Linked DNA regions of Homo sapiens: all the other regions are linked to region 3. The links are contacts of gene promoters, found by promoter capture Hi-C in human tissues and cell types (Jung and others, 2019). All regions are on one chromosome and are shown on one strand. The core of a region is centred on a gene start or on the middle of the fragment in contact, and the rest is flanking DNA. Distances in the headings are between cores, read along the strand shown. Region 1 has its middle 180 kb from the start of MUSK. Region 2 has its middle 150 kb from the start of MUSK. Region 3 holds the start of LPAR1 (lysophosphatidic acid receptor 1).

Region 1 (3,186 bases), core at 154-2,653, 190 kb before region 3:
CACCCCTCTATCCCTGTTACATTATATCCAGTCATATCTCAAGCTGTTGGGGCAACTGGCCAGTCCCAAATGCCTCCAAAGCTGATATGCAAGTCCATGAAGTCCCTGTGTGTGTATTGGGGGTGAGGGTTGGGGGTGAAAGATGAATCTAACTCCCTCTGGTAAAGGCAGGCTAAGCCTTGAACTAATCAAGGCAGGTCAGACTCTCTCTGAATTCCTCTCACAGTAGCTCATTGAAAAACGTTTCCTAGATGAATCCTTTATGACCCAAAGGGAAAATATTCCAAGGCTTTCCAAGAATATTCCAAGAATATCAGACTACTATCACAACTACCAAATTTAAAACATAATGAAGGCAGTAAACAATAGAAGAGATATTTCAGACAATCTTAAAGTCAAATTAGAAACTCAAGCCATACTTAAAAATGTTGGCATGTTTCCCTAAAATTTCCTCAAGCATGATTTTCACTGTTTCTCCCAAGTTTAACTGGACATGGTTTTGGGGGAAACAGGGAGGCACATGGAGAGTTGACATGGATCTCCTGGAACCTAGATGGTCCATAGAGCAAAACTTTTCTCTTGTCTGGGGCCACCTGTGATAGCAAAACAAAGACATAGGGCTTATGTGAGAGTAGCCTGTTGATATGGTTTGGCTTTGTGTCCCCACCCAAATCTCATGTTGAGTTGTAATTCCAAATGTTGAAGGTGGGTCCTGGTGGGAAGTGATTGGATCATGGGGGTGGTTTCTAGTGATTTAGTACCATCCCCCTAGTGCTGTCTCGTGATTGAGTTCTCATGATACCTGGTTGTTTAAAAGTGTGTAGCACCACCCCCTTCACTCTCTCTCCCTCCTCCTCCAGCTGTGTCGAGCATGCCTGCTTCCCCTTCATCTTCCACCATGATTGTAAGTTTCCTGAGGCCTCCCCCAGCCATGCTTCCAGTACAGCCTGCAGAACAATGAGCCAACTCAACCCCTTTTCTTATAAATTACCCAGTTTCAGGTAGTTCTTTATAGCAATGTGAGAATGGATTGATATACCTATCCATAAAGAATTTGGGATGAGATTTTCCTAATGGGTTATATGAGAGTTTCAGACCTTCTCAGAGTAGCAGTGAAGTTCAGTGAAGCCTAGTTTGAGTCATCTTGCAAGGTCTCTACCTGAGAAATTGGCCAGGGCAAGGGGACCTCAGTGATAAGAGCTCTGTAGTCTTAACCTGAGAAGCAGAAGCTGACAGTAACAAGACATCAGAGGTGGCAGATGGAGACTGCATTACTAATACTAGGGAGTAGTGCCAGATCAAAAATCCCCAGATAATCTGCAAAGAATTCATAAAAGTGACCCATGAAAGAAAAACAGTAACTGAGAACCTAACAGGCAGGAGGTTCCAGTGTTAGATTATGGCACAAAAGCCACATAAGCCATTGTCCTTTTCTTTTAATACCTCTCACACTTCCACGATGCCCCAAAATCATGAAATAGCAGTCAGTGAACAAAAGAGCACAAAGGGAAAGACTCTTCAAAACTTTCAGGGGCATCAAAAAAAAAAAAAAAAAAGCAAAGCCTGAGAAACTGTCACAGTAAAGAGAAGGCTAAGGAGATATGATAACTGAATGAAATACGGTATCTTAAATAAAATTCAGAAACAGAAAAAGGACATTAGGAAAAACTAGTGAAATCTGAATAAACTGTGAACTTTAGTTAATAATAATGATCGATATCAATTCATTCACTATAACAAACATACTATAGAAATGTAGAGTGTTAATAATAGCAAAAACCAGGTATAGGGGATGTGGGAACTCTATAATCTTCCTAAGTTTTCTGTAAATCCAAAACTGTTCTAAAACATCGATTTTATTTTTTTTTCAAAGGTAGATGAGGGATACCAGTTAAGAGGCTGTTAAATTAATTTAGAGGCTGATGATAGGAACTGGGACCAGAGAGGTAGCAACTGAAATGGAAAGCAGGTATTTGAATTTGAGTTACATTCTAGAAATAAAGCAGGCCACACTTGCTACAGGATTGTGTTGTGAATGAAGAAAAGGAGGTACTGAAGGTGCCTCTGAATATGGGTCTTAAGTGACTGGATGGCTAATAGGGTGTGTTTGTTGAGATAGGTATTGGGATAGGAAAAGGTGATGGTTATTTTGGGGCAGCGGAAGAGAATGGATGTGAAGTGATTTGTTTTAGATATGTTAGGTTTGAAAGGTCTATTAAACAGCAAGATGAAGTTGTCAGGTAGTTTGGGATTCAAGGGAGGGCACAGGGCTAGGCACATATATTTAAAAGACACGTTGGTATATTTAAAGTCCTATTATAATTGACAGAAATCAGTGAGATAGTATTTAGAAGAAGGCCCAGGACCAAGCCCTGGGGCACTACAATATTTAGAGATTATGAAGAGGAAAAAGAACCAGACAGGCCGACATTGAAGGTGCAGCCATAGAAGTAGGAGGAAAACAATGGAAGCATTTAATTATGGAAGCCTAGTGAAGAAGATGTTTGTCAAACCCATCAAATGCTGCTGAGTAAGAGAAGATAAGAGAAATGACCACCATATTTAGAAAGACAAGAGTGCTTTTAAGAGAGAGGTAGAAATAAAAGCCCGATTAGGGTGGATTAAAAAGAAAATTTTTAATGTCTTTTTTAAAAATTTGAAAAGGTGGTGGCTCACGCCTGTAATCCTAGCACTTTGGGAAGCCAAGGCAGGCAGATCACTTGAGGCCAGGAGTTCAAGACCAGCCTCGCCAACATGGTGAAACCCCCTCTCTACTAAAAATACAAACAAATTAGCTAGGTATGGTGGTATACATCTGTAATCCCAGCTACTTGGGGGGCTGAGGCATGAGAATCGCTTGAACCCAGGAGGCGGAGGTTGCAGTGAGCTGAGATCGTGCCGCTGCACTCCAGGCTAGGCAACAGAGCAAGACTCTGCCTCAAAAAAAAAAAAAAAAGAAAAAGAAAAGAAAAGAAAAGAAAAATGAAACGAAAATGGGTTGTAAGGAAGTGGAAATAGTGACTCCCAACAAAATCTGAGAAGTTCTGTAGCAAAGCAGAGAAACAAAATGAGAGAACCATAAGAGATAAGGTCAAATCTTTTATTTTTTAGTAAGCCAGAAACTCTGAAGGAATTCAAAGAAAAGAGAAAGCATAATACAAGAAAAGAAATAAGAATTCAAATCAC
Region 2 (2,998 bases), core at 404-2,903, 220 kb before region 3:
AGGGAAAGGAAGTTTGGGATGGTACTGGAGCTCAACACAAGGTATGAAAATTGGGAAGCAGCATGAAGCTAAAGTAGGAAGCCCCTTGCCAAAGCCCTTGCCTAAGCCCTTGCCAAAGCACAGGCATGAGATTGGACTAGATAAGAGATCACTGCACAGTGAATAAGCATCCACCAGTCTGCATAGACCAGGTCTCCAGCAGCAAGAGTGTTGTGGGCAATAACTACAGCAGTAGAGCTGATGGACTGATTTCTCCTTCTAGTTCCTTGTCTCCTCTGGGATGTTGAAGCACAGCTAGTCTTTTTTGCCTGGGGTCCTTGGACAATTGAGGATACAGAAGGAGAGAACATAAGAGGAGGAATTGGTGGGTGTTTGAAGTAGTAATTGAAAAAATTAGACATGTGAACATGCTTGTGTCCCAAGCTGGAAAAACAGGTCAATAAATACACATACTATCAGAGTCACAGTAAATGCATGTACTGTCAGAGTCACAGATTTGTTTACAACCAGAGAAAATACAGAAAAATGTAGCTTCTTTGTTGCTTCTTCAAGTATTCTCACCTGCTGTGTAGAAAGGAAATCTATCTTTGAGCTTACTACAGTAAATTTGGTCCACCAACTTTATTTAGCAGTCCTTGTAGAAACTCAGTCATCTCCTATAAAATTCTGTGGCTCTCAGATTTTTAGATGGAGTGACACATCCTCTGTCCTTCTTCAGGATGGGATATGGGCAGTGGTAAAATGATTACCTCACCTTATGAGAGCAACAAAGAGGACCCAAGATTACATGCAGTGCCTCTGGATTCTTGCTGGTCCTTACAGCAGAAATCTTGTCTGTGTGTCTCCTTGACTGTGACCACTGAGGCAGAGGCTACTGGTCACAAACTAGTATGTATGACCAGAGACCACAGCCAAAGGCATTTGGCCCTGTCCCAAAGTCTCTACCTCCTACCTAAGGTGTACAAAAAAAATAAAATAGGTCAATTGAAAATAGCTGAAATATTGAGGGATATTTAGAGTACAAGAGTACTCACAGCAGTATTGCAATTACAATGTGTATACGAAGGCCTTATTGACTTGATTTACATTTTTTTCTTCTTTCAATATGTTCTAGTTAGTTGAACAGATTCCCAAACAACCCAAAATATTTTTGGTTTAAGTACTAGGAATTATAATTATACACCTTTCATGAATGAATGGTCAAACAAAATTCCTGCCAGAGATAAGTTTTCCAGTGTTCTGACAAAAGGACATGCTATCAAGCATGTGTTGACAGCCATTACAATGACACTGTGTACATCTAGTCAAGACGTTTTTTCACTTCTCCAAAGCCAGAAAAATGGAGAAGCCTCCCACCAAAACTTCAAGAGAAAGGATGAGAGTTGCTCACCCTCCCTAAACTTTAAATTCAAAGAAGGGGGCAACTAAACTGGAGCTTTGTGTTGTTGGACAACCCCTGTCTGTGGACCAGCAGTGCAGGATGGGCAATTTGCCTAAGCAGCTGTGAGCCTGGAATCTCTTGGGCAGAATCATTGGCTTGAGAACAGTTTATCTCCAGGAAATTTCTTTGCTGGGGGCAAGTGGAGGGGGGCAGAAAGGTCTACTTTACTTGAGATGTTTCTCAGCAGATAAGTTTCCAAAAATCCTCATTCATATCTAAATATGTCTTCCCTAGAGAGACTGAACAAGGTTCTAAGAGCTGTAGAACAGTTTTAGAAGAAAGTGCTCAAAGTTAGGCTAAACCTATAATTCCTACAGGCAATTTGCTCCTGGAATAGTTAGCACCAAAATCACATAGGGGGGTTTTATGGATGTGTACCTTTTGAACAGAAATCTTTAAAACTAATTCTTTTTTGTGTTAAAAAGGAAAACATGAATAGTAACATGCTAAGATATAAAATGGACGATGTTACATATAAATTGATTTACTTATGTTCCTTAACTTGAAGATTTAGTGCTTGGTAATCTTAATTTGGGAGGGGTTTATTGTGAGGTTTTTCATTTTAGATAAGCTTCCAGTTCAAGATGGAAGAGGAAACACATGTGTTTGTCTCAATACCTGTGGCCTCAGTAGACTACAGATTGAAAACATATGTGGAATATGGAAAGCAGATTGGGGTCAGGCTGACAGATAACAGAGCACAGGAAACAAGAGAACGAGGCAGTAGAAGCCATTCTTCATGGCTGAACCCTTGATAGGCTTCTGGCTAGGCAGAGGCAGGCATAGAGAGTAGAAAGGGAAACAGAAAGAGAAATCTCCTTCAGCCACTAGAATGCCTGCTCTGCTCAGCCAGCCTCTCTGTTCCAGGCCCCTGACTATACAGAATGATGGGTGGCACCACCATTTAACCAAAGTAGAAGCTATTCTCTAAAATAGTAAATAATTTATTTGGGTAGGATTATAGTTACCCTTGGTGATCCAGGTACTTCAGAGAACTTCATAGGCTTTAGTTTAGAGAGCAAAAGTGATGAGCAAATAGCCAAACACCAAAATGAGGATTCAGGAGAAAGGCCTATTGAAGGAAAAATCTATAGAAAAAGCTCACAGCTGTGCCTGAGTTTCACCAATCCATTCCTTCACGAAGAGAGACTCAAGCATTAGCAGATAGCCAAGACAAATCACGACACCAGTGAGAGGAATCAAATGAGCACATTACAAAAATAATAATGACCCCTGAGGAAAAAGCAATTTTTCACAGAACTGAGACGATCTAAGGAAAAAATTCTGATTTGTATTCTCAGGGAAGCTTGATAGGATATTCAGATATTGCATCCAAAACTATAAAAACAGGTTGCTATAGAAAAGGAGAAAAAAAAGTTTTCTTTTAAAGTTTAAGTAGTTTAGCTAAAAGAGAAAAGTCAATATGAGAATATATGGTTGTCAGCTGGGTGGCCATGGAAATGCTTGAGTCACACCTTCCCCAACTACAGGCAGTGCAGCTTGCAGCTCTAGGAGAAGCTCCTTCCCTGTGCTTAAGGAGGGGAGAGAGAAGAGTAA
Region 3 (2,970 bases), core at 223-2,722:
GGGACCCACTCTTCTATCCGGCAAGGGAATAACTTCTTAAAAAACTTCGCATTTTCCAAGTGTACAGTCTCCCCTTAACCAGAACTGCAGACTCTGAATCACAGACCTCTGGCTTACCAATTATGCTTAGCTGAGCAAACACACTTATGCAAATACGTGAAAAACAAACTGTTAGAGCCTGAAGGAATAGAGGATTTCGCTGTGATCATCAATATGTGATCATCACATTTTCAATATTTATGTTTACCAATATCTATCTAACCCCATAGGAAACGACGCGTCCATAGTGAAACAAGCCAGCACCCACATTTATGAAAAAATCCACGGATTTCAACAAAAATGAAGAGAGGAGAGCAGAAGCGGAGAGCCACAACCTCAGGCCCCAGACAGCAGGCAGCAGCAAGTCCTGAATGCCTTCACTCTTAACATTGCAAAGACCAAATGGCAGCAAAGAAAAACAAGAATAAACTTTAAATCCATTCACCACAAAGGAGTCCTACGCAAGTCAAAGGAGCCGTCGATTTCAAAACCATCAACTTTCAAAGCCAGGTCCCTCCCTTGCCTTACAACCTCCTGTTACTTGTTAAGCACGTTTGTTAGGCGGCTGGACAGAAACTTAGTTAAAAGTCCTCAGCCCGGTGGTGGGGGACAACCGAGTCGTCAGTGGGAAGCGAGAGGTGCGGAGCCCCAGGGGCGCAGGGACCCCTCGGAGGTGCAAGTCCAGCGGGACGAGGTTTTGGGAGAATTTCGAGGGCCCCTCGCAAGCCCTCCCGCGCACCCACCCCGACCCAGGTAACCGGAGGCCACCTACGTGTCACTGGGCGGGCCCCGGGGCGCACTGACCTGGCGCGGGACAGGAGGGCCGGCGGCCCGGGCGGCTGCGGCAACTTCCCTCCAGGGGCTCGGTCCGCCGCTGGGTGCGGGAGGCCAGGGGAGCCTCGCCTCCTGCAGGCCGGCTCGCAAGAACGCACGGCCACCCACCCGCGCCGCGGCCCACAGCGCGCACCCACACTCTCACTGGCACTCGCACGCGCGCCCCCAACCACAAAGCCCGTCCGCGGCGGGACAGTGTGAGCCCAGCGCGCCGTGTGGCGGGCCGAGCAGTCGCCGCGGCCTCTGGCTTCGCGCCCAGGGGGCGCCGTCCCCACACGCCGCGCCGGCCCCCTTACCTGCGCTCGCTGCCGCCGCGCGTCCCTCTCCTGCCGCCCCCGGGCTGGCTTCAGGCCGCGCGCCCAGTCCCGGCGGCCCCCGCCCCACCGCCAGCCGAGCCCGGCCCTCCGCCCGCCCCTCGGCAGTCGCCCAGAGCGGGGCCGCCCCCTGCGCCCACCCCGCCGGGGTCCCGTGCTCGGCCGGGCGGCGGGGAGGGCTCCGCGGCTCCGGGCCCTGGCCGCCCCAGATCCGGCCCGCGCTCCGCAGCGGGGCTGGAGACGGAGTCGCCACTCAGGGAGCGTCAGCCGCCAGTCGGCCCCTACTGCCCGGCTTTGGCGCGCTGGCAGGAGGAGGGGGCGCAGAGGGAGGGCCAGAGGAGCAGCGCCGACGCCAGCCTCCTCTCTTCCTCCGCCTTCCTTCTTTTCTGCTTGTTCCACGTAGCACAAGTCAGCAACACCCGAACCCCCAGAGTCCGCCCTCCCCGCTCCCAAGCTGGACCCCTTACCTGGTGTGGCGCCCCCAGCGCCCCTGACCTCTGCGCCCCCTCCTCCATTCATTGGCTCGACAGCCCACGGTGGTGGCAGGGCCGGGGCTGGGGGGTGGCCTTAGCCTCCCATTCATTATCTCAGCAGCCTCCCCCGCCCCGCCCCCGAGTCGACACACCCGCAGCGGGAGACCCGTGGCCGCCAGCTCGGGTCCCACCCCCGCCCCTCCTGCGCTTACCCCAGCGCCGGACAGCTGGCAGGACTCCGGTGGACGCCCCGGCACGGGGCATTTTCACGTTGTCGCTCTCCTCTTCCCACTCGAAAAGCTCTGGAAAACATCGCGGGGCCCGCAAAACCCCGGAAATGTGGCCTCTCTTTCGTGGCTCACTTTCTAAACTTTCCAGAAGGCGCAAAGTTTCTCCCAGCGCCGCCCTGCACTGGAGGCTGCGAAGAACGCAGAAGCGGCTTTGCTGCTAGGAAGGTGCATACGTTTCTAGTTCTGATTTTTCACTTCACTGGATCTGTAAACGAAAGCAAGTGTGTCTGCTCCCCTAGTTCTCCATATCCACGATTATAAATTTCTCTTCCGCTTTCCCAGTGTAGCTTTGCAAGTGTAAACTATCAATTTTAGTGAGAGTAATTAAGGGCGGGGACTGCACACCTGGAGGTGTGGGTGGGAGCGGCGCGGGACTAAGGCCTAGGGAACATTCTCAGGAGAGTGGCAGCCACAGGGATTCGCCCAGGTCTTATAACACACCCACTCGATGGGGTCTCCCTAGCCACGCCACCTCACAACACCCATCTCCCACTTCTGGCTTCCCAGGATTTCCGGAGTGATCACAATTATCGGCCTCTCGCTCCACAGCTAAGGCCACCGCATATCAAAAATAGCAGCGTGTGAGTAAAAGTTTCATGAGCCCTCGCCTTGAAATGGCACAGAGGACACAGCACACCAGCAGTAAGGCATGGGGACTCGGCAGGACTGATCTGATTGAGAGAAACGCAGGACAGCGAGGCGGGGCTATGTTGGTGGTGGCCACCAGGTAACCGTGGGCTTTGCAGAAGAGAAAGGTCACTGCAAACCGTAGCTGGACGGAAACTTTTCAAGCCTCAAGTGAGTTATGCTGTGACGGGACCATGACCATCTCCCACCGGTGACTGCTTAGAACCTTGACCAAGCTCGTGTGGTTTTCACAGGATGCTCAGGGCTGAGTCCTGGCTGTAAATAATTTACTATCTAAAGCTGTTTCCTTTTAAAAACAATGGTTCTAATCTTTTTTTTAAAAAAAATCATTCAAATCTTTTTTAAAAATCCACTTTAAATAACTTTGCTTTC

The links. Contacts are between HindIII fragments. The study calls those that stand out against the background at their distance.
Region 1: a contact is called between a fragment that was not itself captured here and the fragment with the promoter of LPAR1 in region 3, in 1 of the 25 tissues and cell types used here (hippocampus).
Region 2: a fragment that was not itself captured here is called in contact with the fragment with the promoter of LPAR1 in region 3 in 6 of the 25 tissues and cell types used here (IMR-90 fibroblasts, aorta, dorsolateral prefrontal cortex and 3 more).

What each region holds. Positions count from the first base shown.
Region 1 is chr9:110,843,027-110,846,212 of GRCh38, forward strand. No RefSeq gene overlaps it. Among named protein-coding and RNA genes, the nearest start is that of MUSK, 180 kb to the left of the region's middle. The HindIII fragment of the contact is 3,872 bases long and covers 1-3,186 here.
Region 2 is chr9:110,819,094-110,822,091 of GRCh38, forward strand. No RefSeq gene overlaps it. Among named protein-coding and RNA genes, the nearest start is that of MUSK, 150 kb to the left of the region's middle. RefSeq lists an enhancer at 2,169-2,378. The HindIII fragment of the contact is 4,406 bases long and covers 1-2,998 here.
Region 3 is chr9:111,036,998-111,039,967 of GRCh38, forward strand. It overlaps LPAR1 (lysophosphatidic acid receptor 1), which reads right to left and starts at 1,473. Exons shown (of 6, transcript NM_001351411.2): 1 at 1,170-1,473. It overlaps LOC124902248 (a long non-coding RNA gene), which reads left to right. Exons shown (of 2, transcript XR_007061732.1): 1 at 1-792; 2 at 2,458-2,970. RefSeq lists a silencer at 903-1,242. The HindIII fragment of the contact is 11,259 bases long and covers 1-2,970 here.